Regions from separate parts of the Homo sapiens genome. Here region 1 is linked to region 2. Evidence: promoter capture Hi-C in human tissues and cell types (Jung and others, 2019). All regions are on one chromosome and are shown on one strand. Each heading gives the region's core, a stretch centred on a gene start or on the middle of the fragment in contact. The rest is flanking DNA. Distances are from core to core; before and after follow the strand shown. Region 1 has its middle 6.1 kb from the start of S100A12. Region 2 holds the start of S100A7A (S100 calcium binding protein A7A).

The links. Contacts are between HindIII fragments. The study calls those that stand out against the background at their distance.
Region 1: a fragment that was not itself captured here is called in contact with the fragment with the promoter of S100A7A in region 2 in 1 of the 25 tissues and cell types used here (thymus).

Annotation. Positions count from the first base shown.
Region 1 is chr1:153,378,186-153,385,181 of GRCh38, forward strand. It overlaps the pseudogene LAPTM4BP1. Among named protein-coding and RNA genes, the nearest start is that of S100A12, 6.1 kb to the left of the region's middle. RefSeq lists a silencer at 2,199-2,369. The HindIII fragment of the contact is 6,662 bases long and covers 1,327-6,996 here.
Region 2 is chr1:153,412,826-153,419,878 of GRCh38, forward strand. S100A7A (S100 calcium binding protein A7A) reads left to right here and starts at 3,695. Exons shown (of 3, transcript NM_176823.4): 1 at 3,695-3,738; 2 at 5,241-5,398; 3 at 6,320-7,053. The coding sequence starts at 5,258. The coding sequence ends at 6,484. It also overlaps a transcript of S100A8 not described here. The HindIII fragment of the contact is 7,303 bases long and covers 1-7,053 here.

The sequences.
Region 1 (6,996 bases), core at 3,408-5,907, 34 kb before region 2:
CAAATCATCAAGGCAGAAAACTAACAAAGAAATTATGGACTTAAATTTGACACTTGACCAATTAGACTTAATAGACATCTATAGAACAATGCACCCAACAACCACAGAATATATATTATTTTCATCTGCACATGGAACATACTCTAAGATCAACCACATGCTCAGTCATAAGGCAAATCTCAATAAATTCAAAAAAATCAAAATCATACCAAGAATCTTGGACCGCAGTGGAATAAAAATAGAAATCAATACCAAGAGGAACTCTCAAAACCACACAAATAAATGGAAACTAAACAACTTGTTCCTGACTTTTGGTTAAACAACAAAATTAAGGCAGAAATCAAAAAATTCTTTGAAACATACAAAAATAGAGACACAACACAACATATCAAAACATCTGGAATGTAGCAAAAGTAGTGTTAAGAGGGAATTTTTTTTTTCATCTTGGATGTGGGCGAATCTCATTTTAATTGCAAAAGACTTCATTCACAGCACATTCAATAATGGACCAACAGGAGAGTTGCTGGCTTTTGAACATATGAATATATAAAAATACCTTGCAACTTAGGTAGTCAAGATAATAAGTGCATAAAAGGAAAGCAATCCTCATTTTTCTGAAAACTTTTACATTTTAAAAGGTGACTAGGCATACTTGGAAGTTCAAAGCTGTAGAATGTACCTTGCAGGGGAAGAAGGAGGAAAATCCTTTCCATGTTTTTAGGTAAATATATAACAAATATATCCCAATTCCACTTGATAAAGTCAGTTGCATGACTTCCTTGAACCAGGCTAGGGCAGAACACTCAGTAAAAGCAGGCCCTGGGTGGGGATGTGAATCCTGAAGAGGAGCACCAGATCCCACGCAGCACTAAACACATCAGTTTTACCCTCTAACATAGATGAGGCACGCCGCCCCATGACCCTGGACAGGGGATGCAGGAGAACAGACATCAGGTGGTTACTGCTCCCACTGCCTGGTGCTTTCCAATGGTTTTAAGTCAGGCCATGGAGAAAATCCTTTACCACCAAACACAAACTGCCATTGAACTTGTCATAAAGGATGTTATGGGGGAAATTCTTGAAACACATACATAAGGACTTCTATTTACCTAATTAGAAAAATGATTACAGAATTGGCATTCCTGTTTTCGTAAGATTTTGTTCTCTACATTGGAAAGGTTTAAGAAAAGTTGTCTATTTTTGGTTTTATTTTACACTTTCAAAAGAGAGGGAACAGAGAGAAACGTATGACTAACTGCCCAACTTTGGGGTCCCACAGGTATGAAAGCAGACTTCTCTGACTCTAGGTCCATCTAGATTTGGGGGAAGTTTACATTCCTAGGGAGGGTTAGTGAAGCCTGTTACACCCCCAATCCTACAGAAAGTATTCTACAGCCAATCTATCACAGTGTTCTAACAAAGCATATGTTGAGGAAAACTACAGGTTTCAACCTAACATCTAAATCTTAAAAAGTAGCACTTCGGCAACAAACAAGCGCAGAGAGCTCACCTGAAAAGTGAAATAACATGACTATTGCTCAGATATCTGAAAAGTCAAGCTGCTGCCCCCAGCTCCGCCCACTCAAAGGCTTAGGCAGACACCTAGGGTGGCGGCGGCTCCTTGGCAGCACCTAGGGTGGCGGCGGCTCCTTGGCAGCACCATTCACAGTGGTATCATCATACCGGGGTAGGAGCACCTTAGTGTCATTGCTGGTAACATAAACCAGGACATCGGAGGAGTTCCTGCCGTTCATCTATCTGCAGCAGTTCCAAACACAGCTAATCAAGTAACCCTTAAAAGTTAAGATAATGCTAATAAACAGAAGAATAATAAGGACCAAACAGGTGGATTCACTGACATGACATCATCTCTGTAGGGAAAATTAGGAGGCAGTTGTCGTATGTATTCCTGAATGGAGTTTGGATAAACAAGCACAGTGATTGCAACCAAGGTGTTCAGAGCAAAATCAAAGATCTGGTAACAGGGCCAGGTGCGGTGGCTCACGCTTGTAATCCCAGCACTTTGGGAGGCCGAAGGGGGTGGATCAGGAGGTCAGGAGATGGAGACCACGGTGAAACCCCGTCTCTACTAAAAATACAAAAAATTAGCCGGGCGTGGTGGCTGGCGCCTGTAGTCCCAGTTACTCGGAGAGGCTGAGGCAGGAGAATGGCGTGAACCCGGGAGGTGGAGCTTGCAATGAACTGAGATCGCACCACTGCACTCCAGCCCGGGCGACAGAGCGAGACTCCGTCTCGGAAAAAAAAAAAAATCTGGTAACAGAAGAATGGGATGATCCAGAATGCGTGTTGCCTGTATGCTTCGTAATTAGCCTTAATTACGTAATTAGCCTTAATTCTCATGATATCAGTATCATGAGAAGAGAAATCGCAATGGCAATGCACGTATTGGCGTCATCCATGAACTCAAAATCACCTCCCAGTTCAGAACTTGAAAAGTGATACTGATCCGGATCAGCCAGGGCACTCAACAAAATCAGGAGTACCACGGCGTTGATGATCAGGTACCAGACACCTAACAGGATGGTGCTGGTGCGGACATGGAGGCACAGGCAGCAGCTGTTGGAGTAGAACCGCATCCAGGGTGCGACCAGGGCGTGACCATCGTCATTGCTCCTGGAGCAGAGGCGCGAGGACGAGCCCAAGTTTCCAGGAGCGTTGACCTCCTCGCCCAGACTCCGCCACGCGGCTGCTGCAGACTCCTCGGCTGCTCCGGCTTCCGGCCCGCTCACCGGTGTGCCCGCCAGCCTCGCTCCTCTATCCTCCCAAGAGGGAATTTTATAGCGCTAAATGCCTATATCAAGCGGGGTGGGAGGAGGGGGGAGAGATAGCATTAGGAGATATACCTAATGTAAATGACGAGTTAATGGGTGCAGCACACCAACATGGCACATGTATACATATGTAACAAACCTGCACATTGTGCACATGTACCCTAGAACTTAAAGTATAATAAAAAATATATATATATAAAGAAGATATTAATAGAAAGATCTCAAATTAACAACCCAACCTCCACCTAAAGTAATTAGAAAAACAAGAACAACTAAGCTCAAAGCTAGCAGAAGAAAAGAAGTAACTAAAATAAGAGCAGAACTAAGTGAATTGAGACCCAAAAAGCCATACAAAGGATCAGTGAAAGGAAAACTTGCTTTTTTGAAAGGATAAACAAGATTGATAGACCATTAGCTAGATTAACAAAGAAAACGAGAGAAGATCGAAATAAACACAATCAGAAATGACAAAGGTGACATTACAACCGATTCCACAGAAATACAAGAGATCCTCAGAGATATGAACCTCTCTATGAGTACAAACTAGAAAATCTAGAGGAAATCAATACATTCCTGGAAACACAACCTCCCAAGACTGAGTCAAGAAGAAATAGAATTTCTGAACAGACCAATAACAAGTAATGAAAATAAATCAGTAATAAAACACCTACCAACAATAGCAACAACAAAAAACCCTGTATCAGACGGATTCATAGTCAAATTCTACTAGATCTACAAAGAAGACCTGGTATCAATCCTAAAGAAACTATTACAAAAAATCAAGGAGGGACTCCTCCCTAACTCATTCTATGAAACCAATATCCTCATGACACCAAAATTTGGCAAAGGCACAACAAAAAAAGAAAACTACAGACCAATATCCCTGATGAGCATAGACATAAAACTCTTCAACAAAATACTAGAAAACCAAATACAGCAGCATATCAAAAAGTTGATTTCCCAAATAAGTGGGCTTTATTCCTGGAATGCAGGGATGGTTCAACATATGCAAATAAATACATGTGATTCACCACATAAACAGAATTAAAAACAAAAACTATATGATCATCTCAATCAATGCAGAAAAGCATTCAATAAAAATTCAACATTTCTTCATGATGAAAGCTCTCAATAAAATAGACATCAAAGAAACATACCTCAAAATAATAAGAGCCATCTATGACAAACCCACAGTTGACATCATACTGAATAAGCATAAGTTAGGTGCATTCTGCCTAAGAACTGGAACAAGACAAGGATGTCTACTCTCACTATTCCTATTCAACATAGTACTGAAAGTCCTAGCCAGAGCAATTAGACATGAGAAAGAGATAAAAGGAACCCAAATTGAAAAAGAGCGAATTACTTCTTTTCACTGACAATATGATTCTATGTCCAGAAAACTCTAAAGATTCTTCCAAAAGACTCCTAGACCTGATAAACAACTTCAGCAAATCTCAGAAAACAAAATCAACATAGAAAAATCAGTAGCATTTCTATACACCAATAATATTCAAGCTGAGAACCAAATCAAAGATGCAATTCCATTTACAACAGCCACACACAAAAAATAAAATACCTAAGAAAATATCTAACCAGCAAAGTGAAAGACCTCTACAAAAAGAACTACAAAACACTGCTACAAGAAATCATAGATGACACAAACAAATGAAAAAGCATGCCATGCTCATGGATTGGAAGAATTGATATAGTTAATAAGTCCACATTGCCCAAAGCAATCTATAGATTCAATGCTATTCCTATCAAATTACCAAGGTCATTTTTCACACAACTTTACAAAACTCGTCTAAAATTCATATAGAAGCAAAAAGAGCACAAATAGCCAAAGCAATCTTAAGCAAAAAAGAATATAACCAGAGGTACCACATTACCCAATTTCAAACTACACTACAAGTCTACAGTAACCAAAACAGCATGGTATTGGTACAAAAATAGACACATAGACCAATGGAACAGCATGGAGACCACTGAAATAAAACCACATACCTACAACCAACTGACCTTGAACAAGGCTGGCAAAAATAAACAATGGGGAAAGGAAATCTTATTCAATAAATGGTGCTGGGGAAACTGGCTAACCATATGCAGAAGAATGAAACTGGACCCTTACCTCTCACCACATACAAAAATTAACTCAAGATGGATTAAAGACTTAAATGTTAAGACCTTAAACTATTAAAATCCTGGAAGAAAACCTAGGAAATACTCTTCTAGACATGTTCTAGGCAAAGAATTTATGGTTAAGTCCTCAAACGCAATGCAACAAAAACGAAAACTGATATGGGACCTAATTAAACTAAAAAGCTTCCACGCAGTGAAAGAAACTAATAACAGAGTAAACAGACAATCTACAGAATGGGAGGCAATATTCACAAACTATGCATCTGACAAAGGGCTAATACCCAGAATCTATAAGGAACTCAAACAACTTAACAAGAAGAAAACAAATAACCCCATTAAAAAGTGGGCATAGAACATGAACAGACATTTCTCAAAAAGAAACACAAGTAGCCAACAAACATGCAAAAACTAATCATCAGAGAGATGTGAATCAAAACCACAAGAAATATCATCTCACATCAGTCAGGATGACTATTATTTAAAAGTCAAAAAAATAACAGTTGTTGGCAAGGTTGGAGAGAAAAAGGAATGATTATATACTGTTGGTAGAATGCAAATTAGTTCAGCATTTTGGAGATTTCTCAAAGAACTAAAAATAGAATTGCCATTCAACCCATCAATCCCGTTACTGAGTATATACCCAAAGGAAAAGACACCTGCACTAGTATGTTTATCAAAGCACTATTCACATTAGCAAAGACATGGAATCTACCCAGGTACCTATCAATGGTGGGTTGGATAAAGAAAATGTAGTACATATATGTCATATATGTCAATACTATGAAGCATAAAAAAGAACACTATCATGTCCTTTGCAGCAACATGGATGCACCTGGAGGCCATTACGCTAAGTGAATTAATGTAGAAACAGAAAACCAAATACCAGAATTTCTCACTTATATGTGAGAGCTAAACACTGAGTACACACAGACAAAAAGATGGGAGTGGTAGACACTGGGGATTCCAAAAGGAGGGAGGGCAGGAGGGGCACCAGGGTTGAAAAGTTACCTAACAGGTACTATGTTCACTATTTGGGCAATGAGATCATTCGCAGCCCAAGCCTCAGCATCATGCAATATACCCATGTAACAAACCTGCACATGTATATCCTGAATCTAAAATAATTTTTTTTTTTTACAAAAAGGCCAAAGAAGGATCCTTCAGATGGCCTCACTGTTTGAAACCAACGGGCTGGGTCTGCCTGTGGATCCCTTCCCCTGTGTCTGTACAATCCCTGAGGTGTTTACTCAGGTACAGCAGGAGGTGTTGGCAACAACCAAAGGCCACTCTGCTCTGCCAGCAGATGATCAGAGGCTGTTCAGGTGTTCATCACCAGCTTAGTTAATGCATTCAGTGAGTCTCACTGGTCCTAAATAGTCCAGGTGGTAGCATTAGTTGTCACTGACGTAGTCAATGACAAGTTGGGTACCATTTTTCCCAGGGCATGTACACCTATGCCAAGTAGGAGGACACAGACAGCAAAATGGAATCAGCTATCAGAATGCCTTCCTGGCAGAGTATGTCAGGCAACCTTGCAATGTCAGAAGCCCTTCCAGCTTACGGTGTCATTTTGCACAAACACTTGAGGACCCCAAATTCCAAAACAGCATGCTCTATCTAAGGGTGACAGGTATTCTGCAGTATATCCCACAAAGGAATATACTAGCCAGGGGAGCACGTGTAACTCCGGTCAGGGAACTGTCACTATAAAAGTCTCTAGTTGAAGTGTACAAAGCCTGTGTCAGATTTAGCCATGAGTTACATGGCAAGGTAAACTGCATGATGAGCCTGCTTTCCCATACCATTGACCATGTTTAAAATCTGTCTGATTTTATGTCTATGTTCTAGGTAACCTGCATTGAGGCCATCACTCTCCAATCAGAACCACCGATGGCTGTTGGGGCCCCATTCAAATTGGCAACAGGCCACAGATTGACTATTCCAGCATGGAGATGCCCTGAGTACATGGGTGGCTGATTCAGCAGTGTTTTAGATCACAGGGGAATTTCCAAATCTAAGACTGGAAGGAAAGCTCCTCCGCCCAGGGAAGAAGACAGAATTG
Region 2 (7,053 bases), core at 2,445-4,944:
CCTTTGTAGGGACACGGATGAAGCTGGAAACCATCATTCTCAGCAGACTATCGCAAGGATAGAAAACCAAACATCACATGTTCTCACTCATAGGTGGGAATTGAACAATGAGAACACCTGGACACAAGAAGGGGAACATCACACATCAGGGCCTGTCGTGAGGTTGGGGCAGCGGGGAGAGATAGCATTAGGAGATATACCTAATGTAAATGACGAGTTAATGGGTGCAGCACACCAACATGGCACATGTATACATATGTAACAAGACTGCACGCTGTGCACATGTACCCTAGAACTGAAAGTATAATAATAATTTTTGTAAAAACGTTAATTATCTAATACAGATTATATAATTAATTTAATAAAGAACCTCAATACAAAAAAAGAAATTTATATGTATTCTCTATGGTCAGGCACAAATTTATGAATGCACGTGTATATAAATAAATTTAAGTGTGTCCTTCAAATATTTTGTATCAGGAATCAGCAAATTATGGTCTTAAAGCCAAATCCAGCTGGCCAACCAATTCTGGAGATTAGTGTTTACTAGAAACAGCTGTCTTCATCCACGGGGCCCTTATGTCCAGGGCTGCTTCTGGGCTGTGGCAGCATCTGCCCGCCCTGCTCTGCACCATTACTGGTGTTTTGTTATCTGACGACTCTGTTGAGTTCCTGGGCAGACTCTGCCAGAAACTGCCAAGTGATATAAATTTGTCAGTTTTCATTAATTTATTTCAATGTTTGCTTTGTATAATTCAATATTATGTTCTTGTGTATATAAGGATAAGACTATTGCCAGGTGCAGTGGCTCACAACTGTAATCCCAGCACTTTGGGAGGCCGAGATGAGTGGATCGCTTGAGGTCAGGAGTTCGAGACCAGCCCGGCCAACATGATGAAACCCCATTTCTATTAAAAATACAAAAATTAGCTGGATATAGTGGCAGGCGCCTATAATCCCAGCTACTCAGAAGGCCGAGGCAGGAGAATCGCTTGAACCTAGGAGGAGGAGATTGCAGCGAGCCAAGATGACACCACTGCACTCTAACCTGGGCTGCAAGAGCAAAAGTGTGTCTCATAAAAAAGAAAAAACAAGAAAGAAAAAAAAGATAAGACTATTGCATCTTGGTGACTTGCACACTAATCAATAGGAAATATTCTTCTTTTTCATTTAATCCCTTTTCTTAGAATTCTTTGTTGTCTTGTATTAATATTGTTGTCCCTGATTCCTTTTGTATTGCATTTCTTCTGTTCCTTTTTTTTATAAACAGTGATGATATGTAACTCAAAATGAATCATAGACCTACATGCAAAACATAATATTACAAAACTCCTAGATGGTAGCATAAGAGGAAATTTGATCATCTTGGTTTTGGTGATGACTTTTTAGATGCAACACCAAGGCACAATCCATGAAAGAAATAATTCATAAGCTGGACTTCTTTAAAATTTAACATTTCTGCTTTGTGAAAGATATTGTCAAGAGAATGAAAAGATAAGCCACAGACTGGGAGAAAATATTTACAAAAGACATATCAGACTTTGTATGTTATCCAAAACGTACAAAGAACTCTTAAAACTCAGAGATAAGAACACAAACCAAACAATTAGAAAATGGGCCAAAGACCTTAACAGACATCTCATCAAAGAAGATACAGAAGGTGACAAATAAGCATATCAGCTGATGCTCCACATCATATGTCCTCAAGGAAATGCAAATTAAAACAACAATGAGATACCAGTACACACTTATGAGAATGCCCAAAATCTGGAACACTGACAGCACCAAATGCTAAAGAAGGATGTGGAGCAACAGGAACTCTCATTCATTGATGGCAGGAACACAAAATAGTACAGCCACTTGGGAAGACAGTTTGGTGCTTTCTTAAAAAACTAAACATACTCTTACCATAGGATCCAGAAATCACACTCTTCGGGATTTACCCAAAAGAACTGAAAGCTTATGTCCACACAAAAACCTGCATACACATGTATATGAACACATTGCACAGTGGTGAAGTCCGGGCTTTTAATGCAGCCATCCTAAATAACACGCATTGTACCCACTAAGAAATGTCTCCTCCTTCACCCACCACCTGACCTCCTGCTCTTCACTGTCTCCAGTGTCTATGATTCTACTCTCTCTCTACCTCCATCTGTATGCATGATGTACCTCCCACTTACACATGAGGGTGCACAGTGTTTGACTTTCTTTTTCTGAGTAATTTCACTTAAGATAATAGCCTCCAGTTCCATCCATGTTGCTGCAAAAGTCATCATTTCATTCTTTTTATGGTTGAGTAGTATTCGTCTGTGTGTGTGTGTATGTGTGCGTTTGTGTGTGTGTTTGTGTGTGTGTGCGTGTGTGTGTGTGTGTGTATCTTTTGCCGCTAAAAGTAATATTGCCGTCATATGGGAAACTGGGAGAGGGAGAAACAGGTCCCCCTGGTTACATAAGAACTGACAGAGAAGGAAGTTGAAGAAAGATGATGGGTGGAGAAAATAGGTCCCACCTAGGGAGACATCACATCAGCTCTATGGAGCCCCAGAGTGCTTAAAGGGCTGGCACTAAATGAACCAGGACCTCTTGCGGCCTACAAGGAACATTGTAAGGGGGTAGCAGAAAAAGTCCATTTCAGTGATTCATCATCTCCTTTTCCTCACCATGCCCCAGGGACTCCTGTGCCTTCCCAACCCTCTTGCCCCTACCTGGTTCAGGCTTTCCACAGCAGGTTAGGGCACATTATAGCCAAGGGCACAACTCCCAACTCCTACACAGGCTGTTTTGCATAGGAGGAGGAAAAACACTGAAGACTTTCTGGGAAGTTAGTGCCATGGGGCAGGAAAGAACTTTTCCCACTCCCTACCTCCAGGCTCATTCCATGGGGCGGGGGGGGCGGGGGTCACTCCACCACTCAACCTAGATAGTGAGGCCCCTGACCCCAGTCCCCCCACCTAAATCCAGGGCTTCTGTGAGGGGCTGACCAATGGTTAGCAATGAAGTAATCCTGCTTCCCTCCCTGGACTTTGAGTTCCCATAGGGCAGACCCTGATGCAACCCAAGACCTATAGCACAGGGGATAAGAGTAAGGATTTGATTCAGGCTTTTCTTTGTTCGTGTGATGATTTGTTGTGTTTACTAGCTGAGTAAACTTGGGAACATCTCAACTTCTCCTTTCCTAAAATAGAGATTGCAGCACCTGCTTCTTAAGACTATGAGGGGAGGGTTGAGGAGGATGCAAGAGCAGCAGGTGTCTTGATGTCTAGACATTAAAACGCTCAGTAAGCGGTGGGGGTCATAGAACAGGCTGTCACAACAAATGTGTGGAAGTACTGGGGGAGGGAATAAACAAGACCATGCTGCCTTTGGGAGTCTGAAACTCCATTCTCTTTGGGTCCAGAGGCCCAGTGCTCTTTTCTCCCATTTCCTGACCTGTTACTACACATGTACCGCTGCCTTACCCTCAAATCAAGATTGAGCCAGAGAAGGCCCCAGGTGAGGTCTCTGGGGTGGGGTGGGACCTGGTGACCTGGGACCCTGGCCAGAAATCCTGAGCACAGCCTCCTGGGTGTGTCCCACACACCTGATATGGGACAAGCCTCCAAGAAACAGATGACAGAGGTGGCCCCAGGCCTCCCAACCCGTGGGAAGAGCCAGGCTGAGCCTTATAAAGGACTGCTCTTTGTCCAAACACACACATCTCACTCATCCTTCTACTCGTGACACTTCCCAGTTCTGGTAAGTCTCACCTGCCTCTTTGCATTTTCTAGAAGTGCCCAGTGCCCAGCCTGCCATGCTGCCTGTAGGAAGGGAAAGGGCTGTGGACAAAGTCTCAGAAGCCTGGGTCTAGGCCAGCTCTGCCATTAGCTGGGCTGTGTGACCTTCACTTGACCCCAAAAGCCCACGTCTGTACAACCAGGTGGCTGAACCAGACCTGTCCATTGCTCCTTTGGGATCTCCTGAGACAACTCCTGTGGAAATGTCCCCAGTGGGACCTGAGCACAGGACCCTCCCTTTCCTTCCTGTCTTCTTCCTCCCTGGATTCATTCTCCTTTTGGGATCCCAGTTGCTGAATCCCCTCCCCAGCTCTGCCCCCACAGAGGGAGGAGGGATAAGGATCCCCTGTGAATGCTTTGGAGGCTCTCCAAACCCCCAGGCCTTGGACCTGTAAATTCTCAGTCAATCTCTGGGCACAGGGCTTGGCCTCTGGCCTTGGCCTTGGCCTCAGATTCAGAAAGCTTTGAGTGGCTTCTCTTAGTCAGTTGCTGGCACGGAGCTTTCTCCTGCGTTGAGAGGTGTTGGGGGTTTATTGTCAGATGCCCACATGCGTTAGCCAAGGTCCTTTTCTGGTTCTTTGGAAAGTGTAGAAATGAGAGCTGCACTGTCTTATTTTTCAGGCTTGGGGTGCAGGGCAGCCCAGGCTGGCTACTGGCTGGAAGATCTGCTTTGGAAAGTCAGACATTTTTATTTAAACAGGGTCAACCCTTGGTGATTCAGAGGGTGCAGATATTTCCCAAGAGCAGACATGAAGCGACTCCCACCTCACTCCCACCCCATCCAGCAGCTTAAGAACCAGGGAGTTATTTCTGTTCCTTGTAACAGAGGCAATTCTTGTTTCTCATTCCCAAGGGAATGTAGGAAGGGCCCCCTGTCCTCGGGAGAGGGCTGTGTTTCCTGCTCACACTCATGTCCACGCTCACATGTGCACCTGGAGCCTGCACGCACTGTGTCATGCAGGGCTTGCACTTGAGTCAAGGTGGGGCCCACGGTGTCTGGTTCCTGAAGCAGCCGAGGAGGGTCAGACACCAGATCACCAAGGCCATTGTCCTGCCCCCGTGACTCTCACCCCGACTGTGAAGCTGGAGGAGATGGATTTGGTGCTGTTTCAAGAGTGGGGTCCGCCATGTGCTGGTTGAGGCTGGGGGGTCCCAGCTTAGTTCTTCTATGTGTTGCTGGCCTCCGACTCTCCCTGCTTCTCCTTCTCTGAAGCACTGTCCACAGCTGGACTTCTGCCATCCACCTGCATCTCTTCTTGGCCCTGGCCAGGATGGGCCGGGTCTCAGACTTGGTCCTACCCTCTCATTTTTGAACAACTTATCCCATCACATTTAAAAAAATCAAGTTCCTTCTGCTCCATCTTAGGGCTGTTTTTACTCTGTCCTCAGCCCTCCTTCTAACACCCCCACATAGAGACCTTAATTCAAACTAAGGTAAGAAATGATTGTCTTTATTTCCTGAAGGCTTTTTGAAAGCAAAGATGAGCAACACTCAAGCTGAGAGGTCCATAATAGGCATGATCGACATGTTTCACAAATACACCGGACGTGATGGCAAGATTGAGAAGCCAAGCCTGCTGACGATGATGAAGGAGAACTTCCCCAATTTCCTCAGTGCCTGTGTGAGTTGGGGTCTAGCTTCTCAATGTTGGTTGGACCCTGGCATGGCTGAGGATACATTTTGCTATGTGGCCTTGGACAGGTCACCCTCATCCTCTGATTAAAAAGTTTCCCATTTGCAAATAGGGCTTTATTGCTTGGATCATATGTGAATCTAAGGATGGTAGGCGAAAAAGTATGAAAATGGGAAAGAGTTATACAGATATAAAGGAGGTTATTAGATGGTCAGCAAAGTGTGCAGCTTGAGGACAGTGCACAGTCCCCTCCCAGCGCTCACTGACCCTCTCTCTGTGAGACTGAAACTCACATGCTCAGGTCCTGCTTCCCAAAGGCCCCACATCAACATCCCTGAGATTACTGGGAAAGCACTAGAAGTTCCATTGCTAGTAGAAATCAATAGCCCTCTTTGCAATAAAGAAAACTCATTGGCAAATCTGAAAAAACCTGTGGGCTACTAGGTACCAAAGGGTCTAGATGACCAAGAGTAGGGAACCCAGAAGATGAGTTTGGTGGAAAAGGAGAAGAAAGGAGAGGAGGTCAGAGAAAGAAGAGAACAAAGCATGAGGGCCAATTTTGAGGCCCTGGGGTAGAACTAAGGTAGGCAGTGCCCTTAAATGCTGGGAACAGGCAAGATTGAGGCTGGGGCAGGGGACTGCTCTCCCCAAGGTCACTTAACAGAGTGCCTCGGGACAGGACCTGCCTCCCATCCTGAGGTGTGAGACAAAAAGTCTCCTTAGAGAACTCCAGGGATAACACTCACGTCCTCACCCCAACTTCACCCACTCACCCTGTGCTCTCAGCCCCACGACCATGCCTGTGCAGATCTAGGTACTTGTCTGTATCTCTGCCTCCTCCTCTCCCCTCCCAGCCCAAAACTTGTTTGTGATTGAATTTTTCTATTTTGTATGTTTTTCTCTTCACAGGACAAAAAGGGCATACATTACCTCGCCACTGTCTTTGAGAAAAAGGACAAGAATGAGGATAAGAAGATTGATTTTTCTGAGTTTCTGTCCTTGCTGGGAGACATAGCCGCAGACTACCACAAGCAGAGCCATGGAGCGGCGCCCTGTTCTGGGGGAAGCCAGTGATCCAGCCCCACCAAGGGGCCTCCAGAGACCCCAGGAACAATAAGTGTCTCCTCCCACCAGACACTTGCCTTATTTCTTCTTCTCTTTGGTGACCTACATTGTCAAAACTACCAATTCCAGGTTAACTTTGTTGGAGAATTTCCCCCACCCCCATCCAGTGGGTCACCCAGGAGTAATGTCCCTCCAGCAACGTTCCCCCTATGGCCTCCAGCAGAGCTGATCTGCCTCTCACACAGGTCCTGGTGTCTGCCTCTGCACCGTTCCCTAAATGCAGCCACCTTGGCAGGTTCCAGGTGGAAGTTGGTAGAAGGCCCCTGCCAGGTCACAGCAATGCTCTCCTTGTCAAGGCATGGACCAGGGTCATTCAGACACATTCAGATACTGCACTGAGAAGGAGCTGGCATCTCTCAGTGTGCTCCTGCCCTCCCACTCCTGCCCCAGCTGTTCTCCAGGGCTTGGGGAAACAGAAACCACTCACATAGGGATTCCTGGATGGCTTCAGGTTCAGCGCCCTTGGGGCTATGAATGGGAGGCTCAGCAGTGCCCTGAGGATGGGCTTCCTTGTCCTG